Regions from separate parts of the Homo sapiens genome. Here region 1 is linked to region 2. Evidence: promoter capture Hi-C in human tissues and cell types (Jung and others, 2019). All regions are on one chromosome and are shown on one strand. Each heading gives the region's core, a stretch centred on a gene start or on the middle of the fragment in contact. The rest is flanking DNA. Distances are from core to core; before and after follow the strand shown.

The links. The method cuts DNA at HindIII sites, captures the fragments that hold promoters and counts their contacts. A contact is called where the count stands out against the background at its distance.
Region 1: a contact is called between a fragment that was not itself captured here and the fragment with the promoter of RBM5 in region 2, in 2 of the 25 tissues and cell types used here (pancreas and spleen).

What each region holds. Positions count from the first base shown.
Region 1 is chr3:49,765,886-49,771,966 of GRCh38, reverse strand. All of the region lies in intron 1 of IP6K1 (inositol hexakisphosphate kinase 1), which reads left to right. Among named protein-coding and RNA genes, the nearest start is that of IP6K1, 18 kb to the left of the region's middle. The HindIII fragment of the contact is 9,567 bases long and covers 1-6,081 here.
Region 2 is chr3:50,084,770-50,090,765 of GRCh38, reverse strand. It overlaps RBM5 (RNA binding motif protein 5), which reads right to left and starts at 1,847. Exons shown (of 25, transcript NM_005778.4): 1 at 1,737-1,847; 2 at 315-384. The coding sequence starts at 331. RefSeq lists enhancers at 808-1,398, 1,560-1,669, 1,710-1,879, 1,399-1,990. The HindIII fragment of the contact is 21,518 bases long and covers 1-5,996 here.

The DNA.
Region 1 (6,081 bases), core at 2,132-4,631, 320 kb after region 2:
GTTGGGATTACAGGTGTGAGCCACCACGCCTGGCCACTCTTGAGTAAGGTTTCTTTCACACAGTGTAGTGTTTTAATTTATACATGCTGTTGTCTGTATCAGTAGTTTATTTTTATTGCTATATAGTATTTCATTGCATTAACACTACAGTTTGTTTATTCTGTTGATAGATATTTGGGCTGTTTCCAGTGTTTGCCTTATGAGTAAAGCTTTTATGAACTTTTTTGCAAAGGTTTTTTGTGTGGACATACACATTCATTTCTCTTGAAGAGACTAGAATTGCTGGGTCATAGGATAGATGTATGTTTAGCTTTATAGGAAACTATAATACCTTTTCCAAAATGGTTGTACCATTTTTACACTCTCACCAGTAATGTATGAGAGTTGTGGTTGTTCCACATTTAGCAACATTAAGTGTGTTGTAGTGTGTTTTTAATTTTAGCCATTTGGGTGAAAGTATAGTGGTAACTCATTGTGGTTTTAATTTTCACTTACCTGAATGCTAATGATATTGAGCACCTTTTCCTGTACTTAATGGTCTTTGTGTATCTTCGTTTGTGAAGTATGTATTCAAATCTGTTGCCCATTTTTTTTTAAAATTGGCTTTTTTATTTTTTAAAGAAATGTATCTTTTAGAGATAGGGCCTCCCTATGTTGCCCAAGCTGGACTTGAACTTCTGGGCTCAAAGGATCCTTCTGCCTCATCCTCTCAAGTAGCTGGGACTATAGGTGTTCACCACTGTGCCTGGCAGGGTTTTTTTTTTTTTTTTTTTTTTTTGTTACTGAGTTTTAGGAAGTTTTTTTGTATTCTGGATACTATATTTTTTGTTTTTTGTTTTGTTTTTTTAGAGACAGGGTCTTGCTCTGTTGCCCAGGCTGGAGTGTAGTAGCGTGATCATAACTTAGTGTACCCTCTAACTCCTGGGCTTAAACGACCCTCCTGCCTCAGCCTCCCTAGTAGCTAGGACTACATGTGCATACTACCATGCCCAGCTTATTTTCTTTTTAAAAATTTTTTGTAGCAACGGAGGTCTCAGCATATTTGCCCAGGCTGATCCTGAACTCCTGACCTCAAGCATTCCTCTTGCCTGGGCCTCACAAGATGCTAGGAATACGGGTGTGATCAAGACTCCATCTCATAAATAAATAATCAGAGGTTTTCAATTTTGATGAAGTCCGATTTATCAATAATTTCTGTTATGGTTATTGCTTTCTGTGTTCTGTCTGAGTGTCTGAGGACACCTTGCCTACCTCTTAAGTGTTGGACATTTCTAGCAAGGCTTGAAGTCAGGTAGTGTAAATCATATAACTTTATTTTTTTTGAGACAGGGTCTGGTTCTGTCACCCAGGCTGGAGTGCAGTGGCATGATCTCCGCTCACTACACCCTCCACTTCCTGGGCTCAAGCCATTCTCCCACTTCAGCCTCCCGCGTAGCTAAGACTACAGGTGAGCTCTGCACACCTTGGCCTCCCAAAGTGCTGGTATTATAGGTATGAGCCACCATGCCCAGCCTAACTTTATTTTTTGTGTTTTCACCTACAAGCTTTCTAGTTTTAGCTTTTACATTTTGGTCTCTGAGTCATCCTAAGTTAATTTTTGTTATTGTGTGAGATTGGGGCTGGTGTTTCTTTTTCCCCCACATAGATAACTGATTGTTCCATTACTAGCAACATTTGTTGAAAAGACTTGTGTATTATCTATTGCTCTGTAACAAATTATTCCAAAACTTAGCAGTTTAAAACAGCAAACAGTTATTACCTCAGTTTCTGAGGGCTAGGAATTCAGAAGTGGCCCAGGCTAGAGTGAAGTGGTGATCACAGCTTACTGCAGCCCTGGCCTCCTGGGCTTGAGTGATCCTCCCAACTCAGCCTCTCAAGCTGGAACTACAGGCATGCACCACCATGCAGGGCTAGTTTTTTCTATGTTTTGTAGAGATGTTGCCCAGGCTGGTTTTGAACTCCTGGGCTCAAGTGATCTTTCCCTGTTGGCCTCCCAAAGTGTTGGGATTATAGGCCTGAGCCACCATGCTTGGCTTAGAGGATCTGTTTTCAAGATGACTTATTCATAAAGCTCTTTGCAGGAAGCCTCAGTTCCATATTGTTTATCTCTACCCAGGGCTTTTGTTTGTTTGTTTTTAAATTTTCCCTACTTTAAAGCTAACAAGTTATACACAGGGCTCTTTGAGTTTCCTCATGGCGTGCAGTTATCTCCTACAGAAATGATCTAAGACAAAGTAAGGAAGAAACCATGAAGCCTCTTATGACCTAGTCATACACTGTCACTTCTGCCATATTCTTTTCATTAGAATGAGTCCCTAAGTCTAGCCTGTACTCAAGGAGAGAGGAGGATTTCACTTTTTAGAGGGAAGAATGTAAAAAAATTTGACATAGTTTAAAACTACCAAAATTTTCTCTCCCCATTGGTTTGCTTTGGTACTTTTGTCGAAAAACAATTGACTGTTATATCCTGATTTGTCGCTGGCAAAAATCCCAAAAACAATTGACTCTGTAGATATGGGCCTGTTTGTGAAATCTGTGTTCTGTTCCATTGATCTATTTGTTTATCCATATGCCAGTACCCCACTACTGTAGCTTTATAGGAAGTCTTGACATGAGGCAGTGTAAATAACCCAACTTTATTGTTTATCAAGATTTATTTGAATATTACAGTTTCTTTTTATTACCATATAAATTTTAGAATTAGCTTGTCAATTTCTGTAAAAAAGTCTCCTGCCATTATGGTTGAGATTCCACTGAATTTATAGATTCATTTGGGGAGAATTGACATCTTAACTATATTGAGCCTTCTAATCCATGTGCTGTGTGAGGCATATTTCTTGATTTATGCCTTCTTTACTATCTTGCTACATTATTTCATTGTTTTTAATGTAGAATTCTTTCACGTTTTGTTAAATTTGACCCAAGACATTTGATTTTTTTGATGCTATTGTAAATGAAATTTTTAAATTGTAGTAAATATACATGAGAAAATGTAGAATTTTAACTATTTTGAAGGGTATGATGCAGTGGCATTAAATACATTCACAATGATGTTTTGAGAACTACTTTCATCATCCCAAATAGGAACTCTCCCCATTATATAGTAACACCCCATTCTCACCTCCCCCAGCCCCTTGTACGTTCTTAATAATCTTTTTGTCTCAATGAATTCGCCTATTTTATTTTATTTTATTTTTGAGACTCAGTCTCACTCTGTCACCGAGGCTGGAGTGCAGTGGCCCAGTCTTGGCTCACTGCAGCCTCCGCCTCCCAGGTTTAAGTGATTCTCCTGCCTCAGCCTCTCAAGTAGCTGGGATTACAGGTGCCCGCCACCACGGCCGGCTAATTTTTGTATTTTTGGTAAAGATGGGGTTTCACCATGTTGGCCAGGTTGATCTCGAACTCCTGACCTCAAGTGATCCACCTGCCTCAGCCTCCCAAAATGCTGGAATTACAGGCTTAAGCAACTGTGCCCAGCCCTGTTTTATTTTATGTAAGTGGAATTATAATTATATAATTTTTTCCCTTTTGTGCCTGGCTTATTTCACTTAGCAAAATGTTTTCAAGATTCATCCATGTTGTGACATGCATCAGAATTTCATTCCTTTTTAAGGCTGAATAATATTTCACTGTATGTATATACCGCATATCTTTATCCATTTATCTGTTGATGGACATGGGTCGTAGACACCATTTGGTTATTGTGAATAATGCTGTGAACATTGGTGTATAAATATCTGTTTTGGATTCCTCCTTTCAGTTCTTTTGGGTATAGACCTAAAAGTGGAATTGTTGAATCATATGGTAATTCTATGTTTAACTTTTTGAGGAATTGCCATACTGTCTTCTTTACATTCTCACCAGCAGTGCACAAGTGTTACAATTTCTTCATATCCTTGCCAACACTTATTTTCTATTTTTTTTTTTTTTTTATAACTTGGATGTGAAGTAGTTTCTCATTGTGGCTTTGATTTGCATTTCCCTAATGACTAATGAAGTTGAGCATCTTTTTGCATATTTTTTGGCCATTTGTAAATCTTCAGAGAAATGTCTAAGGCCTTTGCCCATTTATGAATTGGGTTATTTTTGTTGTTGTCGAGTTATACAAGTACTTTATATGTTCCATGTATTAATCCTTTATCAGATGTATGATCTGCAGATATTTTCTGCTATTCTGTGGGTGATGTTTTCACTCTTTTTAAATTAATTAATCGGTTTTTTAGAATAGAGATGGGATCTCACTATATTGCTCAGGGTGGTCTCAAACTCTTGGGCTTAAGTGATCCACCTGCATCAGCCTCCCAAAGTGTTGAGATTACAGGTATGAGCCACTGTACCCAGACTAATTTTATTTTTTTAAGTTGTTGTTATTATTATTATTATTTTTTGAGATGGAGTCTCACTCTGTCACCTAGCCTGGAGTGCAGTGGCGTGATCTCTGCTCACCACAGTTTCCGCCTCCCGGTTCAAGTGATTCTCCTGTTTTAGCCCCCCGAGTACCTGGGATTACAGGCACGTGCCACCACAACTGGCTACTTTTTTGTATTTTTAGTAGAGATGGGGTTTCACCATGTTAGCCAGGCTTGTCTTGAACCCCTGACCTCAGGTGATCTGCCCACCTCGGCCTCCCAAAGTGTTGGGATTACAGGCGTGAGCCACCGCGCCTGGCCAATTATTATTATTTTTTAAGAGATAGGGTCTCATCCTGTCACCCAGGCTGGAATGAGTGATATGAATGTAGCTCACTGCAGCCTCAAACTCCTGGGCTTGAGTGACTGCCTGCCTGCCTCAGCCTTCCAAGTAGCCGAGACTACTGGTATGAGCCAGTGCAACTCAGCTGATTTTTTAAAAATAAAAAAAAAAATTTTGTGGAGATGGGATCTTGTTAAGTTGCCCAGGCTGGTCTCAAACTGAGCTTAAGCAATCCTCCTGCCATGGCTTCCCAAAACTGTAGGATTTCAGGCCCTTGGATTTCTTTCTTTTTTTTTTTTTTTTTTTTTTTTTTTTTGAGACGGAGTCTTGCTCTTGTCACCCCGGCTGGAGTGCAGTGGCACGCTCGCTGCAACCTCTGCCTCCAGGGTTCAAGTGATTCTCCTGCCTTAGCCTTCCGAGTAGCTGGGATTACAGATGCCCACCACCATGCCCGCTAATTTTTGTATTTTTAGTAGAGACGGGGTTTTGCCATGTTGGTCAGGCTGGTCTCAAACTCCTGACCTAGTGATCTGCTCGCCTCAGCCTCCCAAAGTGCTGGGATTACAGGTGTGAGCCACTGTACCTGGCTGATTTCTTTCTTTTTTTTTTTTAAGATGAGGTCTCGTTCTGTCACCCAGGCTGGAGTGCAATGGCACGATCTTGGCTCACTGCAACCTCTGCGTCCCGGGTTCAAGTGATTCTCCTGCCTCAGCCTCCTGAGTAGCTGGGATTACAGGTGCCCACCACCACACCCAACTGATGTTTTAATTTTTAGTAGAGACAGAGTTTCACCAGGTTGGCCAGGCTGGTCTCGAACTCCTGACCTCAAGTGAGCCACCTGCCTTGGCCTCCCAAAGTGCTGGGATTACAGTTGTGAGCCACAGCGCCTGGCGTTTCTTTTTTTTTAGACAGAGTTTCGCTCTTGTCACCCAGGCTGGAGTGCAGTGGCGCGATCTTGGCTCACTGCAGACTTGATCTCTTGGGCTCAAGTGATTCTCCCACCTCAGCCAGACTCCCGAGATGCTGGGACTACAGGCATCTGCCACCACACCCAGCGAATTTTTGTGCTTTTTGTTTTTGTTTTTGTTTTTGTTTTTTTGAGATGGAGTCTTGCTCTGAAGCCCAAGCTGGAGTGCAGTGGTGCAATCTCGGCTCACGGCAAGCTCCGCCTCCCGGATTGACACCATTCTCCTGCCTCAGCCTTCCAAGTAGCTGGGACTACAGGCGCCCGCCACCACACCTGGCTAATTTTTTGTATTTTTAGTAGAGACGGGCTTTCACCATGTTAGCCAGGATGGTCTTGATCTCCTGACCTCGTCATCTGCCCGCTTCGGCCTCACAAAGTATTGGGATTACAGGCGTGAGCCACCGCGCCTGGCTTTGTGTGTT
Region 2 (5,996 bases), core at 598-3,097:
TTTGCCTAAAATTCTTTCTTATCCTTCAGCTTCCTTCCAGAGAATATTTTCTCCAGGAAGCTTTCCTGGCTGTGAACAAGAAAAAGACATACTTCCTATGTGTTCTAAGAGCACCCTACACTTTATCACAGCATGTTCACACAGTACTTTAATTCTCTCACTAGACTGTAGTTTGTGACAACAGGATCATAAAGGTGTTCGTTAGCAATGCCTGGCGCAAAACACTCATATATTAGTTTGATAAACTATTTTAAACAAGGAGTTCAGTCCCCACTGAAATGTTGAGATCAAAGCCACGTACTGTAGTAACTTACCTTTTGTCTGAACCCATTGTCCCACTGAAGATTTAGCACACAGCTCCAAAAGGTTCAAATTTTATTTTTTCTAGGAGACAAGAGAGATTAATTGCTATAAATCTCAGAGATCACTTAAGTCAGCAGCTCCATAGCTTGGATACTACTGAGGCTGGGATTTCATCAAACCTTCAAATCATTGACAGTGATTATCTAAGGTGGGGAAGTGGTGGGGACAAACTGTCAACGTTAAAATCGTGCTAACATTTTGTTAACAATGAGCAAAACCGGAAGATTAAGCATATTTTAAAATATTAGATTCCAGATTTAACAGAATCATAATACGGAGCAAGCAGAAGACTCCTTCCCTGCTCCTACCTTAGAATTACAAAGCAAAAAGGGCAGAGCTACAATCAGCTCCTTGGTTTTGTATCAAAGCAACTCCGTGGGATAGTTGACCGTTAAAACATTAATCCAAGTGTCTTCATTAATACAAGGAGCAACATGAAATTCAAACACTTCTGATGAAAAATGTAAAACCTCGTAGAAGCTGGGATACTGAGCTGACTGAAATCTACTACATTAATAACGTATCGCATAAGACAAGAGCAAAGCTAGAAACGACCTAATTCCTAGGTAACAATAACCACCACGTCTTGAGCCAGTTCTTATGACTACAAACCACTGAGTAGTGAACAGCCCGGCCCCCCGCCCCCCGTTGGTAATAAGACATCACACTGCTGGACCGCGTTCGATGAGCGCGAGGTCCGAAAAATCAGTTCCAGTAGTCTCTGGAAGCCTAGTCTAGAGCGAATGCTCAACGATTTGTTGAAATTAATAAATGAAAAAGAACCACTGGGGGGAAACAAGTCCCGGGGCATATTCACTGGTGCCGCCCCTTGTCTCCCGGGCGGTGCCGGCACCCACCTCCGTGGGGTCTCGCGGCCGAGATGGCGGCGTCACGGCCTGCTCGACCGACTCCAGCGTCCGGCCTGCCCTCCCCGCACATGCCCCTCCCGCCTCCCAAGAGGTTCCAAACCCGCAGATGGGCGATCACCGAACAGCTTTTCGGAGAGGGCGATTCAGTTGCAGTTGAGCGGGGGATGGCGGCCAGAGACTGCCAGGGAGCTCCCAAGGAGTGCCCGAGGGACAGGCGACGGCTCCACTGCTCCGTTGGGCTGAAGATTAGGGGACGTGTATCCACAAGGGGCAAAGTCACAGCCAGAAAGAAGCAGGCCCAAGGCTGAGCTGGCTGGACACCCTCTGGAAACTGACAGAGCTGGCAACAAGGAAGGGCGCGGCCCTCCAACGCCTGGGGTAATTTAGCCCCTCTACAGAACCGGCTGGAGCTGATCAGTCGCCTCCGGCAGCTGACAAGGGAGGCTTGGGGGCCAGCCCAAATGGCAAGAACCTACCGTCGTTACAGACAGCCGCCGCACTTACCCCAAGGAGAGACCGAAGCAGCAGTAGCGGTTCTGCGCCCCAGAACCTCCAACAAGGTTCGGCGGCTACACAAAATGGCGCCTCCGCCGACGGCCGTCTCCTACCCACAGTACCTCACGCTTATCCCCTCCCCCTGTCACCCGCCTCCTGCGGAGAAGTCCAATCCTCGAAGCGGCCTGGCTGTGCGAGGGCTGCCGGGAAATGTGGTCGCCAGACCATCCTGTCACTTAGGACGCTCTGTGTTAATGTCTTGCAATTCTCTTCTAAATCACTACAGAGTTGTCGATCGGCTTTTGCAGACCTGGATTAGTTTTTAGGGCTCCTATTAGGCATGTTAATAATTCTTTGCTTTTGCTACTAGCGCCGTAGAGAGTACAGTTTGCTTTCACTGGCACGGTGTAAAACATTGTCTAATTCTACTTCAAAAGGAGACCGTGCGTGAAGTGGTGGCTCACTCACAAGCCAGCATTTTGGGAGGCCGAGGCAGGAGGATCGCTTGAGGCCAGGAGTTCGAGACCAGCCTGGGAAACACAGTGAGATCCTATCTCTACAAAAAATAAAATTAACTGAGCATGGTGGCGTGCACCTCTTGTCCCAGCTACTCAGGAGCTGAGGTGAGAGGTTCGCTTGGGCCCAAGAGGTCGAGGCTGCAGTGAGCTGTGATCTCGTCACAGCACTCCAGCCTGGGGACAATGCGAGAAACTGTCGCTAAAAAATAAAAAGGAGGCCGGTGCTGGGCGCGGTGGCTCACTCCTGTAATCCCAGCACTTTGGGAGGCCAAGGCGGGCGGATCACAAGGTCAGGAGATCGAGACCATCCTGGCTAACACGGTGAAATCCCGTCTCTACTAAAAATACAAAAAAATTAGCTGGGCATGGTGGCGGGCGCCTGTAGTCCCAGCTACTTGGGCGGCTGAGGCAGGAGAATGGTGTGAACCCGGGAGGCGGAGCTTGCAGTGAGCCGAGATTGCGCCACTGCACTCCAGCCTGGGCAACAGAGTGAGACTCTGTTTCAAAAAAAAAAAAAAAAAAGGCTGGACGCAGTGGCTCACGCCTGTAATCCCAGCACTTTGGGAGGCCGAGGCAAGTGGATCACGAGGTCAGGAGCTCAAGACCAGCCTGACCAATATGGTGAAACCGCGTCTCTACTAAAAATACAAAAATTAGCCGGGCATGGTGGCATGCACCTGTAGTTCCAGCTACTAGGGAGGCTGAGGCAGGAGAATCACTTGAACCAGGGAGGCAGAGGTTGCAGTGAGCTGAGATCGTGCCACTGCACTCCAGCCTGGGTGACAGAGCAAGACTCAGTCTCAAAATAATAATAATAATAATAATAATAATAATAATAATAATAATAATAAATAAATAAATAAAAAGGAGGGGCCAGGCATGATGGCTCATGCCTGTAATCCAAGCACTGTGGGAGGCCGAGGCAGGTGGATCAGCTGAGCTCAGGAGTTCGAGACCAGCCTGGCCAACATGGCTAAACCCCGTCTCTACTAAAAATACAAAAATTAGCTGGGTGTGGTGGCGCACACCTATAATCCCAGCTACTTGGGAGGCTGAGGTAGGAGAATCGCTTGAACCCAAGAGGCGGAGGTTGCAGTGAGCCGAGATTGCTCTACCGCACTCCAGCTTGTGCAACACAGCAAGACTCTATCTCAAAAAAAAATAAAAATAAAAAATAAATTAAAATGAGGAACATTAGTTGATCGCTTTACTAGATGCTATATTATTGCCCTAGATGCTTTGCAAACATTTTTGTTTGTTTGTTTGTTTGAGATGGAGTTTTGCTCCTGTTGCCCAGGCTGGAGTGCAATGGCACAGTTTCAACTCACTGCAAACTCTGCCTCCCAGGTTCAAGTGATTCTCCTGCCTCAGCCTCCCAAACAGCTGGGATTACAGGCACCCGCCACCACACCCAGCTAATTTTTGTATTTTTAGTAGAGATGGGGTTTCACCATGTTGACCAGGCTGGTTTCGAACTCCTGACCTCAGGTGATCCACCTGCCTCAGCCTCCCAAAGTGCTAGGATTACAGGCATGAGCCACCGCACCCAGCCAGAACTGATTTTTCAGGTCATACAAATTGAAAACTGTGCCTATACCATTAGTTACAGAAAGTTATACATCAGTTACAGAAAACTGTGCCTATACCATTTTCTTCTCTCTCTGGAAAACAAATCTTTCAAGAATAAGTGGAGGGATGTCAGTGTATATATCTATATATAGGTATATACACAATACATATATAGACGAAAAGGTAGAAATATAATATATGTGGTGTGTGTGTATTTAGAGAGGAAATATATACAATTTATGGGGAAGCATATATGCAAAATATCAGAAAAGAGTACATGCATTAATGAAATTTAAAAGTTAACATTGATGACATCACTGCAAACCCTACAATGGATGATGCAGATGCCAAGAATCTAGAACTCACTAGACTTCATAGCCACTAGCCGTTGCCTGCCTTGTCCCCAAAGCAGTTCAACAAGCACCTTTGGATATTCCTGAGGTGCTTGCTGAGCTGGGCTTACCACCAGTCATAAAAGCTATATAGCTATTCACAAACCTCAAAATAATCTTTTTTTTTTTTGAGACGGGGTCTTACTCTGTCACCCAGGTTGGAGTGCAATGTCATGATCTCGGTTCATTGCAACCTCGACCTATCCAGGTCAAGAGATCCTCCCACCTCAGCCTCCTGAGTAGCTGAGACCACAGGTGTGCACCACCATGCCCAACTAATTTTTTGTATTTTTGGGGTAGAGATGGAGTTTCACCATGTTGCCCTGGCTGGTCTCGAACTCCTGAGTTCAAGCGATCCTCCTGCCTCAACCTCCCAAAGTGCTGGGATTACAAGCGTGAGCCACCATGCCCAGCCTGCAAAATAATTCTTAAACTTGAAGAGGTCCCTGGCAAAAAAAGATGGATTTCATCCATAGGTAAGTGCCATCCTCCAAATTATCTCTGGTAGCTGATCTTCTTTTAGACATTGGCCTGTTGAGCTCCAGAGCTCTGCTGCCAAAGGCCTGTCTGGTAGCTGATGTAAGAAAAAGAAAGACATCAGAGTGAGTTGCTCTTTGTTTTAAATAAAGCCACATATGTTCAATAAGGGATAGTCCTTTAAGATTGTCTTTTCTAGCCCTCTCCCTCTCCCTCTCCCCACGGTCTCCCTCTCTCTCTCTTTCCACGGTCTCCCTCTGATGCCGAGCCGAAGCTGGACAGTACTGCTGCCATCTCGGCTCACTGCAACCTCCCTGCCTGATTCTCCTGCCTCAGCTTGCCGAGTGCCTGCGATTGCAGGTGCGCACCGCCACGCCTGACTGGTTTTCGTATTTTTTTGGTGGAGACGGGGATTCGCTGTGTTGGCCGGGCTGGTCTCCAGCTCCTAACCGTGAGTGATCCGCCAGCCTCGGCCTCCCGAGGTGCCGGGATTGCAGACGGAGTCTCGTTCACTCAGTGCTCAATGGTGCCCAGGCTGGAGTGCAGTGGCATGATCTCGGCTCGCTACAACCTCCACCTCCCAGCAGCCTGCCTTGGCCTCCCAAAGTGCCGAGATTGCAGCCTCTGCCCGGCCGCCACCCCGTCTGGGAAGTGAGGAGCGTCTCCGCCTGGCCGCCCATCGTCTGGGATGTGAGGAGCCCCTCTGCCTGGCTGCCCAGTCTGGAAAGTGAGGAGCGTCTCTGCCCGGCCGCCATCCCATCTAGGAAGTGAGGAGCGCCTCTTCCCGGCCGCCATCACATCTGGGAAGTGAGGAGCGTCTCTGCCCGGCCGCCCATCGTCTGAGATGTGGGGAGCACCTCTGCCCTGCCGCCCGTCCGGGATGTGAGGAGCGTCTCTGCCCGGCCGCCCCGTCTGAGAAGTGAGGAGACCCTCTGCCTGGCAACCGCCCCGTCTGAGAAGTGAGGAGCCCCTCCGCCAGGCAGCCGCCCCGTCTGAGAAGTGAGGAGCCCCTCCGCCCAGCAGCCACCCCGTCTGGGAAGTGAGGAGCGTCTCCTCCCGGCAGCCACCTCGTCCGGGAGGGAGGTGGGGGGTTCAGCCCCCCGCCCGGCCAGCCGCCCCGTCCGGGAGGGAGGTGGGGGGGTCAGCCCCCCGCCCGGCCAGCCGCCCCGTCCGGCAGATGAGGGGCGCCTCTGCCCGGCCGCCCCTACTGGGAAGTGAGGAGCCTCTCTGCCCGGCCAGCCGCTCCCTCCGGGAGGGAGGTGGGGGGGTCAGCCCCCCGCCCGGCCAGCCGCCCCGTCCGGGAGGGAGGTGGG